3 separate regions of the Homo sapiens genome follow, and regions 1 and 2 are each linked to region 3. The links are contacts of gene promoters, found by promoter capture Hi-C in blood cells and fetal thymus (Javierre and others, 2016). All regions are on one chromosome and are shown on one strand. The core of a region is centred on a gene start or on the middle of the fragment in contact, and the rest is flanking DNA. Distances in the headings are between cores, read along the strand shown.

Evidence for each region. The method cuts DNA at HindIII sites, captures the fragments that hold promoters and counts their contacts. A CHiCAGO score of 5 or more calls a contact.
Region 1: a contact is called between the fragment with the promoter of TMEM141 here and the fragment with the promoter of ENTPD8 in region 3, in 5 of 17 cell types (naive B cells, total B cells, activated CD4 T cells and 2 more). The highest score is 7.8, in naive B cells.
Region 2: a contact is called between the fragment with the promoter of RABL6 here and the fragment with the promoter of ENTPD8 in region 3, in 3 of 17 cell types (total CD4 T cells, erythroblasts and neutrophils). The highest score is 7.5, in total CD4 T cells.

What each region holds. Positions count from the first base shown.
Region 1 is chr9:136,789,318-136,792,688 of GRCh38, forward strand. TMEM141 (transmembrane protein 141) reads left to right here and starts at 2,027. Exons shown (of 5, transcript NM_032928.4): 1 at 2,027-2,107; 2 at 2,394-2,460; 3 at 2,630-2,713; 4 at 2,934-3,041. The coding sequence starts at 2,054. RefSeq lists a silencer at 1,414-2,453. The HindIII fragment of the contact is 4,968 bases long and covers 1-3,371 here.
Region 2 is chr9:136,806,698-136,810,157 of GRCh38, forward strand. It overlaps RABL6 (RAB, member RAS oncogene family like 6), which reads left to right and starts at 1,251. Exons shown (of 15, transcript NM_024718.5): 1 at 1,251-1,629. The coding sequence starts at 1,500. It overlaps CCDC183 (coiled-coil domain containing 183), which reads left to right. Exons shown (of 14, transcript NM_001039374.5): 12 at 60-170; 13 at 273-369; 14 at 875-1,044. The coding sequence ends at 993. CCDC183-AS1 (CCDC183 antisense RNA 1) reads right to left here and starts at 2,151. Exons shown (of 5, transcript NR_024580.1): 1 at 2,030-2,151; 2 at 132-505. It also overlaps the pseudogene LOC100422233. RefSeq lists enhancers at 195-790, 791-1,387 and silencers at 663-892, 1,093-1,262, 1,313-1,372, 1,393-1,522, 1,533-2,062. The HindIII fragment of the contact is 3,360 bases long and covers 1-2,369 here.
Region 3 is chr9:137,439,518-137,442,606 of GRCh38, forward strand. It overlaps ENTPD8 (ectonucleoside triphosphate diphosphohydrolase 8), which reads right to left and starts at 1,840. Exons shown (of 10, transcript NM_001033113.2): 1 at 1,769-1,840. RefSeq lists a silencer at 1,700-1,994. The HindIII fragment of the contact is 13,084 bases long and covers 1-2,661 here.

The DNA of each region.
Region 1 (3,371 bases), core at 777-3,276, 650 kb before region 3:
AGGCCTCCCTCTTTCACTAATCCTCCTCAGCACAGACCCTTTATGGTTGTCAGCCTGGGGGACGGTAAGGCCTTTCCCTTCCCACGAGGCCATATCTCAGGCTGTCTCAGTGGGGGGAAACCTGGACAATACGCAGGCTTTCTTGGGCAGAGGTCCCTGCGGCTTTCCGCAGTGCACTGTGTCCCTGGTTAATGGAGAATGGAGAATGGTGATGACTTTTACCAAGCGTACTGCCTGCAAACACATTGTTAACAAGGCACATCCTGCACGGCCCTAAATCCCCTAAACCTTGAGTCAATACAGCACATGTTCCTGTGAGCACAGGGTTGGGGCTAAGGTTACAGATTAACAGCATTTCAAAGCAGAATAATTTTTCTTAGTACAGATCAAAATGGAGTTTCTTATGTCTTCCTTTTTCTACACAGACACAGTAACAGTCTGATCTCTCTTTTCCCCACAAATGGCATTAAATTATTTCCATATATTATAGAGTAGGTCCTTCCACATTTTGAAGAGTAGCAAATCTAGCTTTTTTGTACAGACTTATAAATTATCTAAAGACTTCAGCCTTTTTTTTTTTTTTGAAACAGAGTCTCACTCTGTCGCCCAGGCTGGAGTGCAGTGGCACGATCTTGGCTCCCTGCAACCTCCACCTCCCAGGTTCAAGTGATTCTCCTGCCTCAGCCTCCCCAGTACCTGGGATTATAGGCACCTGCCACCACGCCCGGCTAATTTTTGTATTTTTAGTAGAGACGGGGTTTCACCATCTTGGCCAGGCTAGTATTTAACTCCTGACCTTGTGATCCACCTGCCTCGGCCTCCCAAGGTGCTGGGATTACAGGCGTAAGCCACCGCACCTGGCCAAGATTTCATCTTTTTACCTCATATTTCTTAGGAATTTAATGGTTATATGTTGTCTTTTTTCCCATGCCTTTTGGCTCAAGCAACACGTATATCAGTGTTGACTTTTTCTTTCTTTGATCTAGTTTAAAAAAAAAAACCACATAATAATTCTTTGAAGAAAGGAAGGGGTTAATTTTTTTCCCTAGCACTTTCTTGAAGATCAGGGACTTTATCGATGAAAAAGTAGTAAATAGTTATTTGTAACCTGTGTGAAGCAGCAGCCTGACTTGAAGTCCTCCGTTCTTGCTAATGGTTACACCAGTGAATACTAGTGGAATTGTTTGGGCTGATTTTAGTTTCTCTTAATCAAAATTACTAGATGATAGAATTCAAGAACTTGTACATGTTATTACTTGGTGTATCGATAATTATTTGAAAGTAAAGACTCTTTGTCATGCAAAACAAAAGGAGTTTGAGGCTCAGCTACTAAGCTGCTGGTTACAGAACCACTTTGCTAAACAGTGATTTTATACATCCCCACTCCGTGGTGGCTTATGAGAAATTCAATCCCTGATTGTAGTCCTCAAGCAAAATAACACTGACAATCATCAGGCCTCTGCAAGTGTGGGAATGAGGCCCGGCCGGGGGGAGGAGCGCACGCTCTCAGCCACGCCCCGCCCGGTGCCCGCCTTCGCCCCGCCCAGTCGTCGCCGGAGGTCACAGGGCCCAAGCTCCTAGAGGCGTGGCCAGGCCCCAGGCCCCACCCCTCTCCCCTGCGCTCTAGCAGGCTCGATCCATGCTCCGCCCCCAATCCAAGGCCCTGGCCCCTCCGCCTGCACCCGGCAGGACCCGCCTCTTAGAACCCGACACCTCCGCCTGCGCAGGCCCGCTCCCCGGTCCTGTCTCTCAGGCCCCGCCCCCAGGTCGCGTCTCCAAAGTCCCGTCTCTCAGGCCCCGCCCCCAGATCACGTCTCCCAGGTCCCGCCCCCTCCGCCTGCTGCCGCGCGGACCCGCCCTCAGGCGCCGTCTCCTAGGCCCCGCCCCCTCCGCCTGTTCCAGCGCGGGCCGGTCCCTAGGCCTCGCCCCCAGATCCGGGCCCTGCCCCTCCGTCCGTAACTGCGCAGGCCTGTCCTCTGGGCCACACCCCCAGGTTCCCGTCCCGCCCTTCCGCCTGCGCCTGCGCAGGCCCGCTCCCCGAGCCCTGCCAACCATGGTGAACTTGGGTCTGTCCCGGGTGGACGACGCCGTGGCTGCCAAGCACCCGGTGAGAAGGCCGGTCTGGGACGCGGGCCTCAAACCCCAGAAGCTGACCTGAGCGAGGCGGGGGGCCGGGGCGTGGGGGTGCCCTCGTCAGGGAAGAGTGGCGGAGGCTGGGGGCACTCTCTTGCTAAGGGGCTCAGGGCGTCCGGGTGGGCATAGGGGAGGTGGGACGTGTCCAAGCGCCCAGGGTCTCACTCCTCCACAGCCAGGGTGTGCCCAGAGGAGGGACAGGAGAGGCGGTGAAGGAAGAGGGCAGGGGATCGAGCCTTCACCCGCCTCTGCCACCCCAGGGACTCGGGGAGTATGCCGCATGCCAGTCACACGCCTTCATGAAGGGCGTTTTCACCTTCGTCACAGGTAGGCTGCGTCCAGGTGTCCTGCGGCTGGGAGAGAACGCACCCTCCCGCCCTGCCCTGACTCCCCAGCAGGGGGCGCCAAGTCACCTGCCCGCAGGTGCTGGGGGCCTGGCAAGGTGGGCCCTGGCTATCCCCGGGTACAGGTTGATGGGGACCTCGGCTCTTTGCAGGCACCGGCATGGCCTTTGGCTTGCAGATGTTCATTCAGAGGAAGTTTCCATACCCTTTGCAGTGGAGCCTCCTAGTGGCCGTGGGTGGGTACTCCAGGGCCCCTGCCTGGGCTCTTTGAGGGGTGGGTTTCTGCTAGGGTTGGGGCTGTGGTTCTGCGTCCCTGACTCTGACATGGAGCCCCAGGTCTCGGCGGGAGCCCCACCTGAGCCCACCCACCACGTCTGTCAGGAAGTAGCCTGTGCCCGGTTCTCTTAGCCTGGGAAGCACAGAGGCCCCAGCCCTCTTCCATTTCCTGCTCCACAGTTGCAGGCTCTGTGGTCAGCTACGGGGTGACGAGAGTGGAGTCGGAGAAATGCAACAACCTCTGGCTCTTCCTGGAGACCGGGCAGCTCCCCAAAGACAGGAGCACAGGTGAGAGAGCCTGGGGGTTAGCGAGAAGTGAATGCCACCTCTCCAGCACCCAGAGTTTTGGGCAGCCAAGCCTGGGTGCACCATGCGATAGGCTAGACAAGGTCCCTCCCTCTGGCCCGGCCTCCTCAGCATGTGACTGCCAGATGGGTTGGAGCTGGGGGTGGGCGCAGTAGACAGATCTTGGAGAGCTCCCTTTGAGGAGAAAGAACCAAGAGGGGCTGGGGTGCCCCTGAGATTGAGAGGAAGGGTGCAGAGTGAAGGGTGTGGCAAGGCCACAGCAGCCACGTGGGCACCCGAGAGGAGTGAGGCTGGACTGAGAAGCCCCGCATT
Region 2 (3,460 bases), core at 1-2,500, 630 kb before region 3:
ACACACCAGGTCCCTGGGCAGGGCCAGAGGGGAGATGAGACCCTCCTCCCGGCCTACAGAGAGAAGTGGTGCTCTCCAACACCCTCGATTTGAACAGCAAGCTGGCGTACTGCGAGGGGAAGCTCACGTACCTGGCTGACAGAGTGCAGATGGTGTCCAGGACCGAGGAGGTAGCCCCGGGCTGGGAGGAACCTGCACAGCCCACGTCCCCTCAAAGCTGACAGGCTCCCGTTCAGAGTGTCTGCACGGCTGAAGGGGGCTTTGCCCTGCAGGGCGACACAAAGGTGAGGGACACCCTGGAGTCCTCGACTCTGATGGAGAAGTACAACACCAGGATCAGCTTTGAGAACCGGGAGGAGGATATGATCGGTACAGGCCCCGGAACTGGGGCCCGGGCTGCAGGCGGGTGGCTGGAACACAGGTCGGGGTGGCGCCGGCTCCCATCCCACCGGGACATCCTGGAGGGACAGCGGGGCTACAGGGTGCATCAGTTGTACCTGCAGGACTTTAATTGATGGAGGTGACTTAGTGATGCCATGGGGAGGCTAAAGCCACTGAAATACCTTGTTAATTTCTCCGAAAGGAGGAGGCATGCCATGCCAGACGGGCCCGGAGGAGAGGCACCAGGGCTGGAGCAGGGAGGAGCGCGGTGAAGGCCTGGGCCGGAGCTTCCACTGGGGGTTCTGCGGGAAAGGCTAGGCAGGGCAGCGTGAGCCGCTGCGAATGGGCTGGGCTGAGTCCTCCCGGCACGCTGGGGCTGTCCCTGGGGCAAGGCACCTGGCCCGGGTCGGTGGAGGGCGGGGGCGAGAGGCGGGTCGGGCGGCTGCGCCTAGCTGGGCTAGCCCCGTGTGCGAGCCGCCGCCTCCGCCCGCAGACACCTTCCAGTTCCCCGACATGGACCACAGCTACGTCCCTTCGCGCGCCGAGATCAAGAGGCAGGCGCAGCGGCTAATCGAGGGGAAGCTCAAGGCGGCCAAGAAAAAGAAGAAGTAGCCCCGCCGCCCCGCTCCCTGCTTTGCTACACAAATAAACATTTTTCCAGGACTGCTGCGGACGCTGGGGCGACCGGGGTCTCGGAGAGGAGCACGGGACACGCAGGATCGGGGGAGGTTCTGCGTAAGGAGGCAGCCCGGGCCCGGAACTGCGCGCCAGAACCGCGTGCGCATGCGCCGACCGCGCGCGCCGCGCCCCCGCGGCCCTCGCGGCGCCCCGTAGCCGCGCACCCCTCCCGTCCCGCCGAGCCGGCGCCAAGATGGCGGCGCTGACTCCTGGAGAGCGGTCGCGCCGGAGGCCGCGGGGGCCGGAGCGGAGCAGCCGCGGCTGAGGTTCCCGAGTCGCCGCTCGGGGCTGCGCTCCGCCGCCGGGACCCCGGCCTCTGGCCGCGCCGGCTCCGGCCTCCGGGGGGGCCGGGGCCGCCGGGACATGGTGCCAGTCGCACCCCTTCCCCGCCGCCGCTGAGCTCGCCGGCCGCGCCCGGGCTGGGACGTCCGAGCGGGAAGATGTTTTCCGCCCTGAAGAAGCTGGTGGGGTCGGACCAGGCCCCGGGCCGGGACAAGAACATCCCCGCCGGGCTGCAGTCCATGAACCAGGCGTTGCAGAGGCGCTTCGCCAAGGGGGTGCAGTACAACAGTGAGTGCGGCGGGCCGGGGGGGCGCGGGAGCGCCGCGCGGGTCTCCGAACCCAGGCCCCGGGCGCCGCGCGGTGGTGGGTGTCGGTCTCACCTGCTTGCCGGTTGTGGGGTGCGCTGGGCCCGCCGGGCGCTCCGGGAGCGGGGGCGCGGGCCAGGGGACGCGAGGAGAGGCCAGGCCAGGGCCGGGTCCTCGCGGCCCCCGAGCCGCGGGTCGTTTCCCAGCCGCACTCGCCTGCCGCGTGTCGCTCCCGCCGCGCTGTGCAGTGGAGCGGGTCGGCGGCGGCGGGGTTGGCCCGGCTGCCCGGCCCGGGGGTGATTACATAATGCCAAGCAGGGCCCGCCGGCCCGGGGCGCCGCGCCCCCGACGCTCCACGGTGCCCAGCCCCGGGCACCACTCACCTGCAGGAGGTGCGGGGAACCCAGCCGGCCTTGGCGCTTTCAGCGGGATTTTTCTTTGTTGACTTCCTACTGAGTTTGAAGACAGAATATTAGCTACGCCACACATTCTCGCCTTTTTTTTTAAAAGAAGCGTTTGTAAGAGACGTATCTAGAAAAGCTCCAGAAGGCACGGGCTGACTTGCGACTGTAGGAGACATCCCATTTCTCGTAGGAAGGAGGAGTCATTTACGGACTCCTGAGTGCCTGGGACGCTCCATTCCTTTGTTATAAATTGTGTAAATTGTCCTCGACCTCTTATGAGTTTTTCCATCTTGCGGGCTCTTTCCCAGTAGTTTTTGAAAGCTTTTATGTGGTTCCCTGTTTTGACATTGCTTCCCTCTTAGCCATTTCCGTATGTTTCTATGAGGTTTTAGGACGCTACGCCTATCCAGTTTTTTGGTCACTTTAAGGGGAGCCTTAGAGCCTCCGTGATATTTCCATGGTAATGTAGAATTTTAAGAACTAATGATCAGAAAGACTCTTGTGCAGGTTTAAAAGCAAGTTCATGAATTCGCGTGCCGTGTGCACGGAGAGAGGCCGTAGTTCCTGGGGCTGGAGCTAGTCCAGGAGGACAGTGAAGATGTCGCCTTCCTTAGTCCCCCGGCCTGTGAGCAAGAGGAAGCTGCAGACCACTCGGGCCACCCTCACCCAGACACCTTTAGCAGTAAGCAAGATAAAACAACTTCTTAAAGATAAGTCTGAGCATCTAGGTATGAAAGTTGGTGTCCGGGCCGGGCACGGTGGCTCATGCCTGTAATCCCAGCACTTTGGGAGGCCAAGGCGGGCAGATCACGAGGTCAGGAATTCGAGACCAGCCTGGCCAACATAGTGAAACACCGTCTCTACTAAAAATACGAAAAAAAAATTTAAAAGAAAGTTGATGTCCGAACCAAGGGCCGTATTGGCTTTTCTTATACTCTAGAACATACGACGACAAAGAAGATTTTGATGAAGTTCAAATTAGAGTCAGCGTGCTCATCAGAAAGAAAGCGCAGCCAACACGTTTAGGAACAGAAACGGATTATGTTGAAGACAAACAATCCATTGCGTTTGTGTTCAGTAACCCAAGCATCAAAGGAACTTGTGGCTGGGGAGAAGGCTTGACTATTTGAAATCTCAGGACTCCTCTGTCCAGGAGCTCCCAGACTCCCGTGGAGTGGAAGCCTGGGGGCTCGCTGAAGAAGTCACGTGACTGGAACGTGCTTAATGCTTGGCTGTCTGGTAAGGAAAATAAAGTGGTGCATTTTGAATAAAAATAAAAGCTGATTTTAAATGTGTTATAATTGAAACTTTATACATAGCTGGCATTCGGAGAAGAGAATATTGAGTCAAAATAACTGAGTTTACGCCAGTTTTTAGACTCTGCGTTTGGATCCTTTATTTAATTTTATT
Region 3 (3,089 bases), core at 590-3,089:
CACGTGGAAAGTGGGACACGCTGTGGGGTCCTCACGCAATTCTGTATGTCCGGGGGATATAAGCCCATTTTAAGGAGGGTAGATGACAGAGGCTCAGAGAGGACAGGAGGCCGGTCCAGCCCAGACAGGGCCCAGCCTGTGTCCCCAACCAGCACCCAGGCCATAGGCCACCTCATAGGGACAAACAGGTGACAGGGGCCAGGAACACAGGGACTCCACACCCAGAAGATGTAGCCACCTGAGACCCCCAGGCCTGAGCCTCCAGGTAGGCAAAGAGGTTGGGGCAACCTCTCCCACACTCAAAAGACCCCCAAGACCAGAACAGCCTCCCAGATCAGAACAGCTCCTCAGACCAGGAAAGCGCCCCCCAGACCAGAACAGCCCCCCCGAGACCAGGACAGTGCCCCCAGACCAGGAGAGCCCCCCAGACCAGGACACCCCCTCAGACAGAACAGTCCCCCAGACCAGGACAGCCCCCCAGACCAGGACAGCCCCCCCCAGACCAGGAGAGCCCCCCAGACCAGGACACCCCCTCAGACAGAACAGTCCCCCAGACCAGGACAGCCCCCCCAGACCAGGACAGCCCCCCAGACCAGGACAGCCCCCCCAGACCAGGACAGCCCCCCCAGACCAGGAGAGTCCCCCAGGCCAGGACATCCCCTCACACAGAACAGTCCCTGAGACCAGGACAGCCCCCCCAGACCAGGACACCCCCTCACACAGAACAGACTCCCAGATCAGGACAGCCCCCCAGACCAGGACAGCCCCCCAGACCAGGACAGCCCCCGCCAGACCAGGACAGCCCCCCCCAGACCAGGAGAGCCCCCCAGACCAGGACACCCCCTCACACAGAACAGATTCCCAGACCAGGACAGCCCCCAGACCAGGACAGCCCCCCCCAGACCAGGACAGCCCCCCAGACCAGGACAGCCCCCCCCCAGACCAGGAGAGCCCCCCAGGCCAGGACACCCCCTCAGACAGAACAGTCCCCCAGACCAGGACAGCCCCCCAGACCAGGACAGCCCCCCCCAGACCAGGAGAGCCCCCCAGACCAGGACACCCCCTCAGACAGAACAGTCCCCCAGACCAGGACAGCCCCCCCAGACCAGGACAGCCCCCCAGACCAGGACAGCCCCCCCAGACCAGGACAGCCCCCCAGACCAGGACAGCCCCCCCCAGACCAGGACAGCCCCCCCAGACCAGGACAGCCCCCCAGACCAGGACAGCCCCCCCAGACCAGGACACCCCCTCAGACAGAACAGTCCCCCAGACCAGGACAGCCCCCCCAGACCAGGACAGCCCCCCAGACCAGGACAGCCCCCCCAGACCAGGACAGCCCCCCAGACCAGGACAGCCCCCCCCAGACCAGGACAGCCCCCCAGACCAGGACAGCCCCCCAGACCAGGACAGCCCCCCCAGACCAGGACACCCCCTCAGACAGAACAGTCCCCCAGACCAGGACAGCCCCCCCAGACCAGGACAGCCCCCCAGACCAGGACAGCCCCCCCAGACCAGGACAGCCCCCCAGACCAGGACAGCCCCCCAGACCAGGACAGCCCCCCAGACCAGGACAGCCCCCCCAGACCAGGACACCCCCTCAGACAGAACAGTCCCCCAGACCAGGACAGCCCCCCCAGACCAGGACAGCCCCCCAGACCAGGACAGCCCCCCCAGACCAGGACAGCCCCCCAGACCAGGACAGCCCCCCAGACCAGGACAGCCCCCCAGACCAGGACAGCCCCCCCAGGACATCCCTTTGGACCCTCACCTGGGCTGGCTGCCCACTTCCCGGAGCGGCAAGGAGGAAGCTGTGCTTAGACGCTTCTGTGTCCGCGCACCTGGCGTCCAGCCTCTCCCTGCCCCTGGGTCCAGGACAGCTGGGGTGGGCGGGGCAGGGCGGTGACAGCCTCGGGCGATGCGCTGTGCACCTGGCTCCAGGGCCCGCAGGCTGAGGCCAGCGCCCAAGGTCGCCCCGCCCACTCCACCCTCGGGTCCCCCGCCCAGGGTCTCCCCGCATCTCCCACCCGCGGGTCTGTCTCGGTGCCCAGGGTCGCCCCGCCCCCGGGGGGGTGGGAGGCAGGAGAGGGAAGCTGAGGAGGAGCCTGGAGCTGCGAGGGGCAGAACTCCGGGACCCCGCCCCCCACGGCCCGCAGCCGCGCTCCTGACCCCGGCCCGGACTTTACCCCCCGTGCCGCCCGGCCCGGGCAGGTCGGAGTCAGGTGACCCCGAAGGTCCAGGCCCGGGGCGGGGGCGGAAGCGCCTGCAGCCCCGCGGCGCCCGTCGTTTTCCATTTGCAGCCACTCTGCCTTTCCCGCTCGCCGTGGGTCCCGGGGCCGCCGCCGTCGGGGTCCGGGCCTCTGAAGCGGGGCGGGGCTGGGGGAGGCGCGGAGCCAGGGCCGGGCTGGGTGGGGCTGGGGGTGTTGGGGGGCGGGGAATAGGGTGGGGGAATGCGGGGGGGCGGTGAATTCCTTTCTGTGTGAGATCCAAGAACCCTCTTGGGGTCTCAATCGGGACTCTCTTTACTGGTAGCATATTTGGTGTCATGTGTGTGCATTTTTGTGCTTTTTCTTGGTGATTTCACTGTTTATAATGGCGTCTCAGCATAGTGCAGAAATGCAAGAAGGCTGAGATGCACTTTACAGAGAAAACACACATTGGATAAGCTTCATTCGTGCAAGAGTTAGCGCTGTTGGCCATGAGTTCAATGTTAGTGATACAATACATATTAAGTAAGGTGCCCTTAAACAAAAATACACATAAAAGAAGGTTTTATTAATATATTGATCATTTAACAAAAATGTGACCAGAAGCTTGCAGGAACAGAACTTTGCATTTCCCTTAGGAGCAATAGTTTAGCATATTCTTTAATTCAGTGTTTGCAGCAACTTTATACACTAGCTGCCATGGGTCATAAGAGTCAAATGTGTTTGTTGAGGATTTTTGCAGTTGTGTTCAACAAAGTTGCATAGTTTTCTTTTTTAGTCCTGGTTTCTGTATGGGGATAATGCTGGGCTTATAAAATGAGTCTGGGAAGTTGTCCTTTTTTTTTTTTTTTTTTGAGATGGAGTCTCGCTCTGTCACCCAGGCTA